Regions from separate parts of the Homo sapiens genome. Here region 2 is linked to region 1. The links are contacts of gene promoters, found by promoter capture Hi-C in blood cells and fetal thymus (Javierre and others, 2016). All regions are on one chromosome and are shown on one strand. The core of a region is centred on a gene start or on the middle of the fragment in contact, and the rest is flanking DNA. Distances in the headings are between cores, read along the strand shown. Region 1 holds the start of TP53TG1 (TP53 target 1). Region 2 holds the start of VPS50 (VPS50 subunit of EARP/GARPII complex).

What was found. Contacts are between HindIII fragments. The CHiCAGO score rates a contact against its expected background, and 5 or more counts as called.
Region 2: the fragment with the promoter of VPS50 here is called in contact with the fragment with the promoter of TP53TG1 in region 1 in 1 of 17 cell types (total CD4 T cells); the score reaches 5.7 in total CD4 T cells.

What each region holds. Positions count from the first base shown.
Region 1 is chr7:87,341,280-87,348,882 of GRCh38, reverse strand. It overlaps TP53TG1 (TP53 target 1), which reads left to right and starts at 3,391. Exons shown (of 3, transcript NR_015381.1): 1 at 3,391-3,840; 2 at 7,199-7,360. CROT (carnitine O-octanoyltransferase) reads right to left here and starts at 3,219. Exons shown (of 18, transcript NM_021151.4): 1 at 3,116-3,219; 2 at 2,453-2,543. RefSeq lists a silencer at 3,194-3,403 and an enhancer at 7,041-7,110. The HindIII fragment of the contact is 3,653 bases long and covers 2,567-6,219 here.
Region 2 is chr7:93,227,962-93,235,564 of GRCh38, reverse strand. It overlaps VPS50 (VPS50 subunit of EARP/GARPII complex), which reads right to left and starts at 3,199. Exons shown (of 28, transcript NM_017667.4): 1 at 3,065-3,199. The coding sequence starts at 3,097. It also overlaps a transcript of HEPACAM2 not described here. RefSeq lists enhancers at 2,679-2,738, 2,979-3,028, 3,119-3,288, 3,429-3,498. The HindIII fragment of the contact is 4,774 bases long and covers 813-5,586 here.

The DNA.
Region 1 (7,603 bases), core at 2,142-4,641:
ACTTAAAAAGAATGTGTAGACACAAAGTGCTAGAAGTAAAGAGTGATCAGTGGGACTGGTATAATTAGTTACCATTTATTGAACACCTAGCATTTGCCAGGTACTCCAGTTTGCATTACAGAAAACATGTGTTAGCTCTCTAACTTTTATGTTATCTCTGAAAGGTGGCATTCTTTGCAATTTTACATATGAATATATCAAAACTCAGAAATTTAGTAACTTACCTAATGTCAAACACAGGACCCAAACCCAGATCTGTTAAGACTACAATCTTTCCCCTATACAAAACAACATGATAGAAGGTAAGGGAACCTGCAGTAAATCTTAGTGGGTAGATAGTATTTGATGTATAGAAAAGGATTATGTGTTGATATTGCATTGATATAGAAAACTTTGGAGCACAAAGTACAAAGAGGTGTGGAAGTGTCCAACTGTAGAATTAAAGATTATTATAGAATACATAAATCATATGACAAGCTGCTTTAATTGCACAGGTCGTATGAGGTCTACACAGAATGGTCTCAAGTGTTCCAAAGCAATCTTGAACATATTGACACGTGTATTAATTGCTATCAAAGAAATCTAACTCAAAATGTGAATAAGGTATACAAATGCTAAATAAAAAATGAGGTTTCTCAAAGCCTTTGTAAATTATCATATATTAATTATATTAAATAATGTAATATATTAAATGTAATTATATGTTAAAATAGCAACTGAGAAATCAAAGAACGTTAATATTGAATTTGAACTTCCTATTCTCTCAAAAACTATTTTTTAAAACTGATAGCAACGCTAAACAAAGTATTCCACTCATAGGTTACAGAATCGAACACTATCAAAAACATGGACACAGAAGAGACTATTTTCAGCTAATACCTGTTTTCCTCTGCTTTAACAGAATCCTGAGTTGTAGCTGTGCATACAGCCCCCAGTTTTATCTTTCCTACCCTCTCTTGGAGCTCAGTGTGGCTTTGTGATGACCTTGTGTGTGTCACTTCCAGGTCATGCTCCCAAAAAGGAATGCATGTGTTCTCCCTGCACTTTCCCTCCTTTTTACTACCTGCTAGGTAGTGACGAACTAAACAGCACCATGGCCTCATTTATGGAAGTCATATATGCAGGATTGCAGAATCTCCCTACTAGTCCTGGACTCCTACCTCTAGATGTATGGAAAAAAAAAAACTTCTATTTTATTCATACCATTGTATTTTGGGCTTTCTATTGTAGGGAGAAGAGCTTAGCCTGTACCACTAATATAAAGAGATAATTTGAAAATGAGAAATAATAATTAACTCAAAGTTCTTTAGCTTCTTTCTATCTATTGACTTTGGCTGCACACCATTTTGACCATCCATAAAAATGGGTTTGTACCTAATGGAAATGTAGATCTGGATCCAAGTACAGACTCTGCCACTTTCTAGCCATGTGCCCCTAGGGCAACCAACTTTAAGTGAATTTCCTTATCTTAGAGTGGTTAATCATACAATTCAATAAAGTCAGAATTTGTTTTCAATGCCTGTGAAAGCACATTATAAAAACAAAATAATCCTGCCTGAAACCACCATATTGTGGTAGGCACAATTACTATGAATGGCCCCCAAGATTCCACCCCTGCTAATCCCCAGAACCTGCGAATATGGTGAGATCATTACTCCTGTGATTGTGATATTCTCTACAGAACTGACCTTAAAATAGGGATATTATCGAATTGGAACTAATCTAATCACTTGAGTCCATAAGAGCAAAGAGCTTTCTCTGGCCAGTGGCAGACAAGTAAGACTGCTTTAATGCTTGAGAAGGATTTGTGGTGTCTTTGAAGATGCAGATGGCCTTAAAGAACTGAAAGAGGCTCAGGCTGACAAACAGTAAGGATATAGAAATGTCAGTGTGAATTCTACCAACAATCTGAAATAGCCTGGAGGTGGATTCTCCCCTAGAGCCTCCAGAAAAGAATCCAAATCTACAGAAACCTTGGTTTCGGTTTTGTGAAATTCTAAGCCAAGTACTCAGCTAAGCCCACCCAAACTTCACATTTACAGAAGCTATGAGATAATACATTTGTGTTGTTTTAATTGTTGCATTTGTGTAATTGGTTAAGGCAGCAATAGAAGACTAGTACACACATACAGAGAAGATAAGCTATTCTGTTTACCTCTGTGCCACTTAATAGACTCTAGAAAACTGGAAGCAAGAGTATTAGTTACATACCCACTATAGTGCTTAACCCACCAACCGGTACACATTAAAAATATAAATTATTGGATTCTTTCTTGAAGAGTTTTCTTGAATTCTCAACCACAAAGATTAAGTTAAATAAGATGGTTCCAATAGCACTAAGAAAATGATTATGCTAGATTTAATTAGAATTGACTTTCTGGGGGCAATTAGATATGAATTCACAGAAAGTGGAAAAGAACCACGAACAATACGTGAAGGAATTGTCACATACCAGTACACCAAGAAGATGAACTGCTTGAGACTGCCAGGAGCCTGCTGCAACAATTGTTTTGAGATCACAGGGAACTGGACTAAGTCGGTGACTGTGGGAAGAAAGAAACAAGCTTAACAAATATTTAAGAGGGAAAAAGAAATGAACAAGCTAGTGAAAGAAGGTGGAATGCAGACAAACTAGGAGTTGGGAGTTCCCAAGACAAACTTTTCGTGAATCACTGCAAACACACGCAAATAGTCCACCTGCTAGAGAGCAGGAGTAAATGATCATACAATTAAGTAGGTTTCAGACAAGTACACCTTCCATTAGACGGGTTCAAAGGGTAGAGGATACGTTTTCAGTGGCTGGGTAACAGGTTCGTCGCAGAGTGGCAAGGGGTAGAAGCAGGAGCAGAGGGCAATGAGAGCTCGGAGGCTCTTCCCACCAACCCAAGAGCAACTCTGCACTCAAGAGGCCATCAAGTGAGAGAAATCTAAGCACTACAACGGAGCAGCCCCGCGGCCCAACCTTGAGGGTACCCCTGAGACCCCAGCAGGCGAGATGCTTGATGACACTACTCCCCCACCAAATCCAGGCACCTTTGCGGTTCTGCACGACTTAACTTTCCCCCGCCCCCGAGTTGAAGGATTAGGGGAGGGAGGGAATGCTGCTTCAACGGACCTGTCCGTCCTCACCGCCCGCGCCTCGCCGCCTCTGCCGCAGCCTCAGCCTGCAGCAGCACCGGCTCGCTCCCCCTTGGGCCTCAAAGGTGCGGGAATTGGACTGAAGGCCGCTAGGGTCCCGCCCCGCATTCGCCGGGGAACAGGATTGGATAGAAAGCCGCGAGGGTCCCGCCCCTCACTTTCCGGGGAACGGGACTGGACGGACAGCTGCAAGGGTCCCGCCCCGTGCCTGACGTCGGGGGCGAGCCGGGCCTGCGCGGTAGTGGGACCCGACCCTGTCTCCAGTGGGCGTCTTGGGCCCCGGCTCTATTCTGGGCTGCGGGCCTGGGAAGGGCTCGCCGGGTGCCAAATGAGCTGTCCTAACTCTGCGGGGCTGCAGCTTCCTGCATGATGCTGGGGAGCTTGGCGCCTGACCCAGGATCTAGAAGGCACTCTGGGCAGGCCGCGCTCCGCCCACGAAGGTACCCAACCCTCTGGGATAGATGCAGGAAGCGATGGTTAAGACCCATTTTCACCCAACTTCTCGCCGCAGGTCTGGCTTACCACACGCTCCTCCCCATTCCCAGTGAGCCGCTTTTTGCAGCACCAGGCGAACACTTACACCAGTGCTTTGTAAAGGAATCTTATTGTCCACCCCGTGTCTTGGCAAAAGAACAGTGATCACACAGATTCCTACTTGGGCTCTTTCCTTTAATCTTCGGAGGCTGAGTTTGCCCAACTCAGGTATGCCGCAGCACACTACATCATCTCGGGTCTCCTTGCTCTTCTGCAGCTCTTCATTGCTACCCAAGTTATTTGAATACCCCAGGGATGCTTACCCCCGGGCCTATCTGATGTCTTTTACTGTTGTGCCAAGAAATGGAATCTTTAACCAGAGTGGAGCTACCCAAGTTCTAGAAGATCATAATGTGATTGACTTAGTTTCACAGATTAATTCATTTTGCTTTTACCTTCTGAAATAAAATATACTGTTTCATTTTTAATTTTAAATACACTGTTTCATTTTTTTGTGGAAGGAAAGACCAAATGTTTACACTGACTCTGAACTAGTTATCAAAGATAAAGATTTAGATTTCAAATTAACATGTCATGACAGGCCCCATTCCTTTGTCTGTCGTTTCTAACTCCTTTAGCAGTAAAGTTTGACCTGAAGGGAAGTGAGGCTATGTGTAACTGAATGTTCCCTTTGTGTAAATATTCATAAGTTTTCTACAGAAATATTGTGTTTGATTACAGTACAGCTTGCTGGAAGTGTTTCATAATATATGGCAGACGTACTATTCTAAGAAAAGTTCTGAATTTTGAAACATATCTAGCCAAAAAGATTTTAAATAAGGGATTAGGAATTTGTAGTTGTAATTTCTGAAGGTGTGATAAAGAACTTTTTCTTTCATATATAAGTGCGATGCTCTGGATGATGTTAAAGTTTGCTTACAAGATAAAGTTTTTAAATTGAGTAACTAAAAACTACTCAGAAACCTTCGTTGTATTTTTTTTCTCCTTTTTAGTGAGTCTTGGCATCTCTTTAAAAGTTTATGCATGTTTAATGCCTGTTGGTGCATAGAATTTAGAACCATTTCGCTTCACTCTTTTTCCTACTCTTGTTGTTTATTTCAATGGAAACAAGATGTTTCTGTAAAGATTCCTGAATTATCGGATAGACAAAAAGGTGTGGGAGTGAAAAAATGAATGGAACACAGATTTGAGTATGTAGAAAAAAATCTTTTAAAATATGTTATACTGATAAGCATATGTACCCCAAATCACCAAAAACAGGTATTTTAAAATATGTTTGGCTTCAAAATGTGTGATATATATTTTAATGAAAGATTCCAAATTATGTTGCATTCAGGTTAAACTTGAACGAGTTTGCATTTCTTAGAGTGGAGCGGGAGATATTGGCTGGTAAGGAAGATGTTTTAGGCACTTGAAGTATTTGTGATAGCAAGAAGTTGTTCCAAGATTAAAAATTGACTATGAGTCAAAGTAACTTTTTGGAGGAAAATTTGTAAGTAGTACAAGTGGTGATAATTTTTTAAGTTGCCATTAAAAAAATCTTTTATTTTTGTTCTTCTGTAGTTCTTACTCAGCATACCACAAATTGCAAAAGACTTTATAGATAAGTCTAGATAAATTTCACCATTAAAAAGTATTAAAATGCTAGACTAAGAAGTTCATGTTTCAATCTGCATAACTGGCTTCCTGCTAAGATTTGTGACTCTAATAAGTAAGGAGATATGGTAAATAGCCCTAATCTATGGGAGACCTGTAACCTCCTTTCATTCTGATGTATAAAATGAACATGTTGAAGAAATAATTTTGTGATGTTTCTTCTTTTTAATGGGGGGGCAGTAGAAATATGGTCATTTTGGGAAGCAGCCAACAGCAAATTAAAGTACACTGGACGCAAAGAGGGCAATGTAGCATTAAAAATGAACTCCACTGCCAACAGCAGATGAACAGTGTTTGATACAAAAGGTCTCTTTTTAGTACTAATCATTGATTTGGGGTTGCTTTTGATGATATTTACAGTACATGAAAAGTTGCCACCAAAATCTGAGGGGAAGAGTTAAGATAACTATGATGTTTTTGCATCTCAGAAAAAAATACCTTCTTACTAAACAAAATATAACATTTAAAAATTTTGTTAACATCTTTGTTGAAATATAATTTACATACCATAAAGTTCGGCCATTTAAAGTCCACAAATCAATGGTTTTACTATATTCACAGGGTTATGCAGTCACCATAAGCTAATTTTAGAACATTTGGTTCAAATATTTAAAAAGATTATTTTCTACATACTCAAATCTCTGTTCCACTCATTTTTTTCAGTCCCACAACTTTTTCTATATCCAAAAATCCAGGCATCTTTACAGGAACATTTTGTTTCCATTGAAATAAATAACAAGACTGGGAAAAGAGTGAAGCAAAGTGGCTCTAAATTCTGTGTTACCAACAGGCATTAAACATGATTCATCAACTGACTGATGAATGTATGAACCACTTTTTGTTTGTCCATTCATCAGTTCATGGACATTTGGGTTGTTTCTACCTTTTGTCTATTTAAATAATGGTACTATAAACATTTGTGTACAAGCTTTGTGTGAACAGGCTTTCAATTAGTATTTTAGGAGTGGAGTTGTGGGGTCGTATGTTAACTCTATGTTTAACATTTTCAAAAACCGTCAAACTGATTTCCAAAGGAACTGTACCGTTTTTACATATCTGCCAGCAATATGAGTTTCAATTTCTCTGTGCCTTTAGTTACAATAACAATATAACAGCCCTTGCTATTGTCTTTTAAAAAAAATACAGCCACTCTAATGAATGTGAAGTGGTGTCTTGTGGTTTTGATTTACATTTTTTTGTGAAGACTAAGAGTGTTGAGTATTTTTTCATGTGCTTATTGGCCATTTATATATCCTCTTTGGAGAAATGTTTATTAAGATCCTTTTCCCATTTTTTAATTAATGCACACATTTTAAAATTATATTAAAATTAGGCAATGGTCTGACCATAAAAAGGCTGCTTATGGAATACTGTTATGTTAAACTTCACTTACAGGATGCTAAATCCTTAGAACTGAGGTTTTCCCCAGAAAAAGATTAATGGAAACATCAGTTGCTTTTCAGACTTGATTCTGCTTCAAAAGATGATTTTACACAAATAATTTTAAAAAACTTTAGTACACAACGAATCACTTTTAGTTTGGTATGCATCCACATTTCAGCATTTAGTAGTGGTCCTGAACAGAAAGTGAAAAACACAGCAATTTTTCCAGGAGGTCAAGTCTGCCAATTTCAGGGATCTGCTGTGTACCCCAATTTCTTTCTTAATCCCTGCTGAGGATCTTGAGAAGCAGGAGCAGCACCAAAACCAAGGCATGCACTGGATCCAAGGTTCTTTTTGTTCCAGTTGTGAGATTCCAAACTAGACCCCAGTGGATTGCAAGGATGACCAAATGAGAGCCCTGCTTAAAACTTCTTCAATTTTTAAAAGCGAAAGCAATTACAAGAAAATGAAACAATGCAGAGGGATCATATGTGCTTTCAAGTGTCTTCATGTGCTCTTTCTCCAGGTTTAACCACCAAGGACTCTGAGAGCTGGCAGGTCTGAGTAACCCTGGTAACAATTCTCTTCACCTTATCAAAACCTGAGCTAAAACCAATGCATCAGCTGATGATGACAGCAGAGAGTGGCAGGGCTGAGGACCCAAAGTCATTTCCCAGGCTGGCGGAGAGTGAGTAAATGAGATTCTAAAACTAAACAAGGGAGGTCAGAGACTCTTTCCAACCTTACCTGATGGCTTCTGGCCAAAGCAAGGAAGTGTCTTGGAAGGTGTTGGTTGGTGATGGTGCGAAAAGACACTTGAGAAGGAGGGAAGAAAAAGCAGCGCCCCTTGATAAAGGTGGGGGAGAGAAGATATGGGGAAAGCCCTGAATTCCTCATCAAAGGCCAATCTCAGAGAGTAGCAGGGGGTTAC
Region 2 (7,603 bases), core at 1,950-4,449, 5.9 Mb before region 1:
GCATATTCACAGTCTGACCTCTTTCAACACTTCCACCACTAGGGTGGAAGGCTTACACCCACCCTCTCACCTGGATTACCACAGTAGCCTCATCATTCACCTCCCCTGGTTTTGCTCTTTTCCGCTCTTCAATCTGTTCTTAAAACATGGGTCCAAATGGTCTGTCTGAAGTGTTATGTCCAATTATATCATTCCTCTATTTGCCATTTCACTCAGAATGAAAGCCATGACCTTGCTATTACCTATAAGGTACTACATGATCTAGCTTCCTGCCTTCAGTCATCTAACCTCATCCTAACCTCATCTCCCACTACTCTTCTCCTCACTCACTTCACCCACACAGGCCACTTGCAATTTCTCAAACAAGCTCCTGCCTCAGGACCTCTGCATTTGCCTTTCCTTCCACTGGAAATGCTCCTTCCCAAATATCTACCTCACAGAGTTCACTTCCTCACCCCCTTCAGGTTTTTTTATATTACCTTCTCTGTGAGGCCTTCCGTGGCCATCCTATCTAAAATTATAAGTGACCTCAAATCACCAACAATTCCCAGGACTTTCTATCCTCTTTTCCTCTACAGTGTTTATCACCGTGTCTGCCTTAACACTTGTCTATTTTTTTTTTTTTACTTAGAATAGTACCTGGCACAAATTGCTCAATAAACATTTGTTGAATGGACTGAAAGAACAGAGGTGAGCATGATGGAGAAAGATGAAGAACAGATCTCATCTAAATAAAGAGAGCTAACAAAGCCTTCCTTCCTCCCATTATTTTGCAAACAAAGATCCCAGGACAGCTGAAATGTCCCAAAGCTTAAATTTCACAGACCTTAATTTCCTATCTCTCCATATTAACTCAATATATATTATTAGCACATTCTATAGGTTCAAAAAAAGAAATACTTTCATGTATACTTACTTGTAATCCTATTAAATTTAACCCAATAATAAACTGTACTAATTCAAACCCTCAATGTAAATAGCAGGCACACTAATTTCATACCTCATAGATTCAGGAACTGTGCATCAGTATCAAATATGTGAAAGTCAAGCCATAACATATATAATTAGGATAACTTTAAATATGTATGCAAAACTCCTAATTTTACCTCACTTTGTACACAGTATGGTTCCAGCTTTTTGTATGTGTTCTTTAATGTATTTTTTTCCATTTCAATTAAACACAGGTTTGACCTGCTGAAATTCAATAAGCAACTGACTAAGGCTTAAGTGTTACCATTTTCAGCACAATTGCATTACATTTAGGAGACATACACTTATCACTGCTATCTGAAATTTTTTTCTCTCCTCAGTTTTACAAAATGAGGTCAAAAAAACTAAACCAACCACAGCTACCATACAATTATGACAACGTTAACTACACTGAACTGTATGGCAGGCAACAAACTTGAGACAGCATCAAACAGCTGATGCACAAAAGTCCAAATTCAGCATTCCAAAGGCAGTTTAGAGGTATTAGTGATATAAAGTACAAAAGTATATATTGATTTAAAAATCAAACAGGTACCGAAGTCAGCATGAACTTATCTATTGCTTGAATTACTGCAACAGCCTGCTTCCAATTTTCCTGCTTTCCCACCATCAACATAGCCAATGTAACTAACGGTCTCTGCGTTCAAGCACTTCCTTGATAATGCCCAGGAACTCCGTTAACGCCTTAAACTCTTTAACTTCATTATATCATGTAAACACCACTATCAGGCTAACTCCATAAGGCACACATTATTCCTATTTTAAAGATGTGGAAATAGATGCTTAAAAACGTTATGTAACTTGCCGAAAGTCACACAGCTGCCACAGGATACAGCAGGACCCAAACTCATCGTCAAGTAAGAAGTAGTAGGACGCACAACACCAGTACTCAACACATGTGAGGAATTAACAAATGTTACTAGCCACTTACTTAAATATTTTTATTATTCACAGAACATTTTGATTATATTTTCATAACATTAACAAAATGCTCTGACATAACTAAAATAATCATGTAAGGGTCATTTGTGCATTGTGCAAGAGAAATACACAATTTGTATCCTGTTTATATATCTCTCAAATTGTGAATTCTCAAATAAGAATGTGGAATTTGAGTTATTTTTGTAATCAACAAGAAAAAAACTCACAAATATACCTTTCACTAAACGATTACCTTCCACATTCTCCAAACTTCTAAAAGCCATGTTGATTTAAAACTCTAATCTTAACTATCTTTCATATTAAAATAATAAAATGACCAATTCTAGTGAAATATTAAAGCTGAAGTAAATAAAGGCAGCTAAAACAAAGTCATAATCAATAAGTACATAAAAGAAAATTTCTGCACTTCTTAAATGAAGCTGAGGCATTATTACGAGGTCCCTAACATTTATGAGACAGGTTACAAAATAGCCAAAGCTCTTATTCATGAATTTCCATTCTGGGGAAAAAAAAGAAAAGATCAGTATTTTGCCATGACAAAAATAAATTTTTTAAAGCAGAATTTCACAAAGAGTTTTCACATATATTAGCTTATCGATGACCCTCATAACAGAACTGTGAAGTAAAATGAACAAAAATAATTATTTTCACATCCAGAAACGTAAGCTACAAAGTTTGGGGACTTGCCCAAAATCCAAAAGCTACTAATTCTGTCTTCAAATCATCCGTTTTCAGTCTTTCCAGGTCACCTCTACTGCACAGACCACACCACCCTACCCAGGCTATCAGCTCGCATATGACAGACAGCCTGGATGCGGAAGACCTTGCAAGGAAGCTCGGGCTGTTCTGGAAAGACGGCAAAAAGAGGAGGAGGGGAGACAAAGATACCCTGATTCCTTCAATGACTTATTTTTAAACGAATATTTCTGGGAGGCTGGTACCCGCTGGAGCAGTGCTCCAACCCAGGCGGCCCAGGTGAGTTTTCTAGGGTATGCCCCGGCTTCCCAGTCCCCCTGACACCTGCCACCACCCATAACTTAGATCCCCGCCCGCCACTGGTTGGGGACAGAACATCTCGGCTCCTCTCACTTCCGAGATGAAGGAAGCCTTTGCTTCAGCCGCCGCGACTTACCTGTCGGGTCATGAGAGATTTGATTTTTTGCATATCGAAATCCTGAGGAGGGTACCCTGCCTCAAAGAGCTAACAAATCACACCGAGCCACTACACAGCTGGCCCTGACACTAGGAAGCCATAGTGGGTGGTCACGTGGAGGAGCCGACCCAGGGTATCCTGTCTTTCCCTGGGCCTGCTGGGAACTGTAGTCTTCTGGACGCCGGCGGTAGCAACGATGAACTAAAGTGGCCAACCCAGGGACTACATCTCCCAGCAAGCAAAAGAGCGGGTGCTTCAGTTAAGCCGGTAAATATTACTGCTCAGAGCGACCACTGCGATCGCCGGTCTTACAAAGGTGCTTGCACTAGGCAGTAGCTACTCTTCGGCGAGACGGAAACCTAAGTCACAGGTGACTAGGCGTTGAGCGAAAGATCAAACTCAGAGGAGACAATATATAAGCCAGATTGACGCGATGTCCCCTAGGAGTGTGAGGGAGGAAACCTCACCTGGTCTAGAGGGGCGGGGTGGGAGAACGAGAGACTGACGCGAAGGAGAAGGAACTCAAGAAAGGGCTGTCACTGAGGGGTAACCTGAGAACTCGAGACTACCCCGGGCGCGCTGGGTTTGGCCTGAGGAAAGGTGTGCTCTAGGTTGCCCAATAGGCGGCCCTCCAGGTTTAGGGCTGTTCTACCTCAGTCTTGGTATCCCCTGCAAAAGCTCTAAAATCGAAGGATTTTGACGCCCGCCTATTATTTTACCTCCGTACTCTAAAGCAGTGATGACGGGAAATACGACAATAACGAGTATACCTGTCACTTTAAAGTCCTCTTTTCAACTTTTGGCAGTTTAGTTAAATTGGGGAAAGGAACAGAAGTGTCTTTGGGGACACAATTTTAAAAGGACTTTACAATTATGAGAATATGAGAAGAAGAAGAAAAAGCAGCCCTAAAGCTAACAATGATAGCTAACACTTATCGAAAGCCGAGTACCTGTCAGGAACTGCTAATAGCTTTAAATATATGATTTCATTTATCCACACAAGAATCCTGTGGGTTCCCATTTTAAAGATGACGAAGCAGGTATGGCGAAATTAAGGAACTTGCCTAAGATTACTGCAGATGTGCAAGTAGAAACTGAAGGATTAATCGGTCATCAGATGTGTTAAGATTTTCATGTATTGTGCTGAAGAAAGTTCTAAAGCATGGCACCAATTTTTTTAAGTTTATTTTATTATAATGTTAACTTCTAAAAGTATGACACAGACCCATAATTTCAAAAATATTTCTTAGAATAAAAAAAGTTCAAGTGTGTCAACGTAATAAAAAATACTAGGTAAACAATAGTATGGGTGGTAGTCAGATATGGCAAAACTAATAAAGGTGATTTGCAAATGACTGAAGTTTGGGGGACACTAACAGAGGTTATTTCTGATTCTGAAATTCTATTTTCTCACCCCTTAGAGCCTCGTTTTATTAATTTTTACAAATGAGGTTGTAATATTTTAATATTTTATATAGGGCTTTGTAAGGATAAGTGAGATGATGTAGGTGAATGAAATGTATAAATTGTAAAGCACTATACAATTATGAGGTATTATTGGTTTTGATTCTGCCCAGTTCTCTACTCCAACAGAACCACCTTGTGCATACTTGTATCATCACTGCGTTCAGCAATTCCTTTGAAATTATATGTTTACCTATATGCTTCTCTGACTCTGTTATTTCTAACCCCTTCAAGAAATTCTGGTCACATTTAGGGCAAGTCTAGTTTAGTTTATTCTTTACCTTCTCTAATCTTAATTGTCAGACTGTTCTTTGTGTGTGAAAATCTGCAATATTTAGAAGTCCCTGAAAGCATCAAAAGAAACAAAAACTGCCAGCCATATTAGCCTATAAAATAAAACCCAAGTCAATAAACATTTCTTGATTGTTGCGCTCAAGGCAACACTAAAATAAGCACTTTGATTAATAATCTATGGTTGTGGTCACAAGGAGTTCACAACTGGGTTTAAAAGCATATCTTAGGGGTGATCTGAGTTCAGTAGATCTCAAACCTGACTGTTCAGATTCACCTGAGGTGTGTGCTGTTATTATTGTTGTTTTCTTTGGGGATGTTTGTTTGTTTAAAATCTTCAGTGATTCTTAAAGGCAGTCCAGCTCTAGCATGTCAAATCCATGCTGTAAAGATGAGAAAACGTATCTGTATAAGGGTTCGAGACCACATATTTCATGAGAGCTTGATCTAGGACTAGAACCCAGATTCAACCCCGGAATTTTCTCCCTCACATACTCAAATACACAAAGTTAAAGATGATCCCCCCAAAAAGTTTTTTTTATCTAATATGTGTATTTCTATTGGCCAAATTCAGAAAAATGAGTGTTATCCCTATCTATTCGACACTGAAAACGCAAGAAAGTATTGAAACTTTGTTTTACTCCAAAACTCTACATTTTAGTTTATTTCCTACAAACTGGAGAAATGGATAAAAATGGATACAGTCTTCTAAATGTTTTAAGGCTATAACTATAATATTGAAAGCTTGTAAAGTAAATCAGCGCTGGTGTCTAAATAAACTATATTTTCTAATTCAGCATACCTTAACACTATATGAAATAATTGAACCTTACGTTATTCATTTCTATCTGTCTACGCTCAAAAAAACAAAAAACTTGGCATCCTAACAAACACTTTTTAAAAGGTTGGACATGCTGCTATTTCCTTTCCAATTTTCAAAAAGGTATTTATTTTTAAGATTTATTCAGGACTTTCACATTTACCTGAGAGCTGTTGTTAGTGATAGTCCAGTGCAAAATAATGGAAAGTTTAGATGGTCTGCCACCAAATCCTGGGGAAGGTTGGCTGGATACCAATTCCTTGGTAAAGGAGTGCAGAGCCAAGAGTTAAGTAAATTGATCTGATTCAGAACAATAGGATTAGTAGTAAAGTAGGATAAGGGCATATTACTAATGGCCCAAAACAGGAGGAATGTCTGGAAGCTTAAATAAAAGCTGAGATCCTGGTTTGATTAGAAAGATAAAATTTCTTACCACTCCACAAATACCAAAGCAGTGGAGAGATGCAGCCCCTCCAAGATGATATGACTACACTTCTTGAGCAGGCCATAACAGAAAACAGAACACTTGCCAAAGGTAAAGTAGTGACCTAAAGAGGTGCCCAGGAAGAAGACATTACTGCTTAGTATTTAGCAGCCATATAAGATAGATCAAGGCTTCCACGAGGCAGCTTTGTAGACTTTACAGAAGTGAACACTAGCACAGGCATAGGCATATGTGATAGCCTCCTCTGGCAGCTAACTCTCCCTGTAAACTGGAGAGAATCCACTAATTACAACAATAAGAAACATTTCTTTCCCCAGTTCTTATTCCCCACTGTTCTGCATCTACATTGACCTTGGCATTTCACCACCTCTCCTTAATTGTTTCTGCCACTGCAAAACATGCGTGTGCTAGCTACTTGTGATTAAAAATGTGGATGTTTGAAATGCATGCAGCAGACATTTACTGTATGAAGTAATACCAGTCTGCAATTTAAATAAACTAGATTGTAAACTGTGTAGTGTGATTTGAGAGGTAATAAAAATCCCTGCCCCCAACAAACATACACACACATACACACACACACACACACACACACCCTCCTGCACAGGAGTATATGTGTCCATATCCCATTGTAAATGCACGTGGACACACACACGCATACTCTATCCCAGTGGCTCCTTACATTGCTTGCAGTTTAATCACCGTGGATATAGATTGTTTTAGGTTAATCAGCCTTCTCATTTTAAATGCAAATATAACTAAGATTGGTAAACAGTAACACTACAGGCCCTTTTTTCCTGACTGGAATGATAACAGCAGAACTTCCCAGTGGGTTACAGGTGTGATGTGAGATATGGATGGTAGGAAAATTCTTATAATTATAAAACCTTCAAACTATTTTTAAGAATCATGTAAAAATTAACAATTGTTGAAGTTAAGCTTGAGCACTCTTTTTCTCACTTCCTGTGTAAACATGTTGAAATCAGAAGTTACTCCAGCAGGTAAGAGTTTATATCTACAGTTTACCACTAGAGGGCGCTTTGTCATGATTATCCCAGTAGCCCTTTCCCTAGATGTGCCGTATTATATTTCAATATGTGCCATGAAATAAAAAGATTACAAGTAAGATTCATATGGCATTTATTTTTTAATGTAGCATCTACTATCACCTTATGTCATGAAACAGGGAATATTTTCAAATACAACAAAGAAAATCTCAGAATAAAAAACTCCTTTATATTGAGTATATTTAACACTAGGGAAAAACACAGTACATTGTCTTTATTTCTCTTTTTGCCAGGGACCCAACAAACTTCATTATAATCCAGCACTAGATTGAAAAACACTGAAAACAGCTAATTTGATAACGGCAATTGGAGATTAATATCAATCTAAAAGATGTTGGGGGAACCTATGTGATATCTGTAGAACTTCCATATTACTTTCCAAATTGTATTTTGTGCAATCCAATATTAAAATTTATTTGTATTTCTTACGC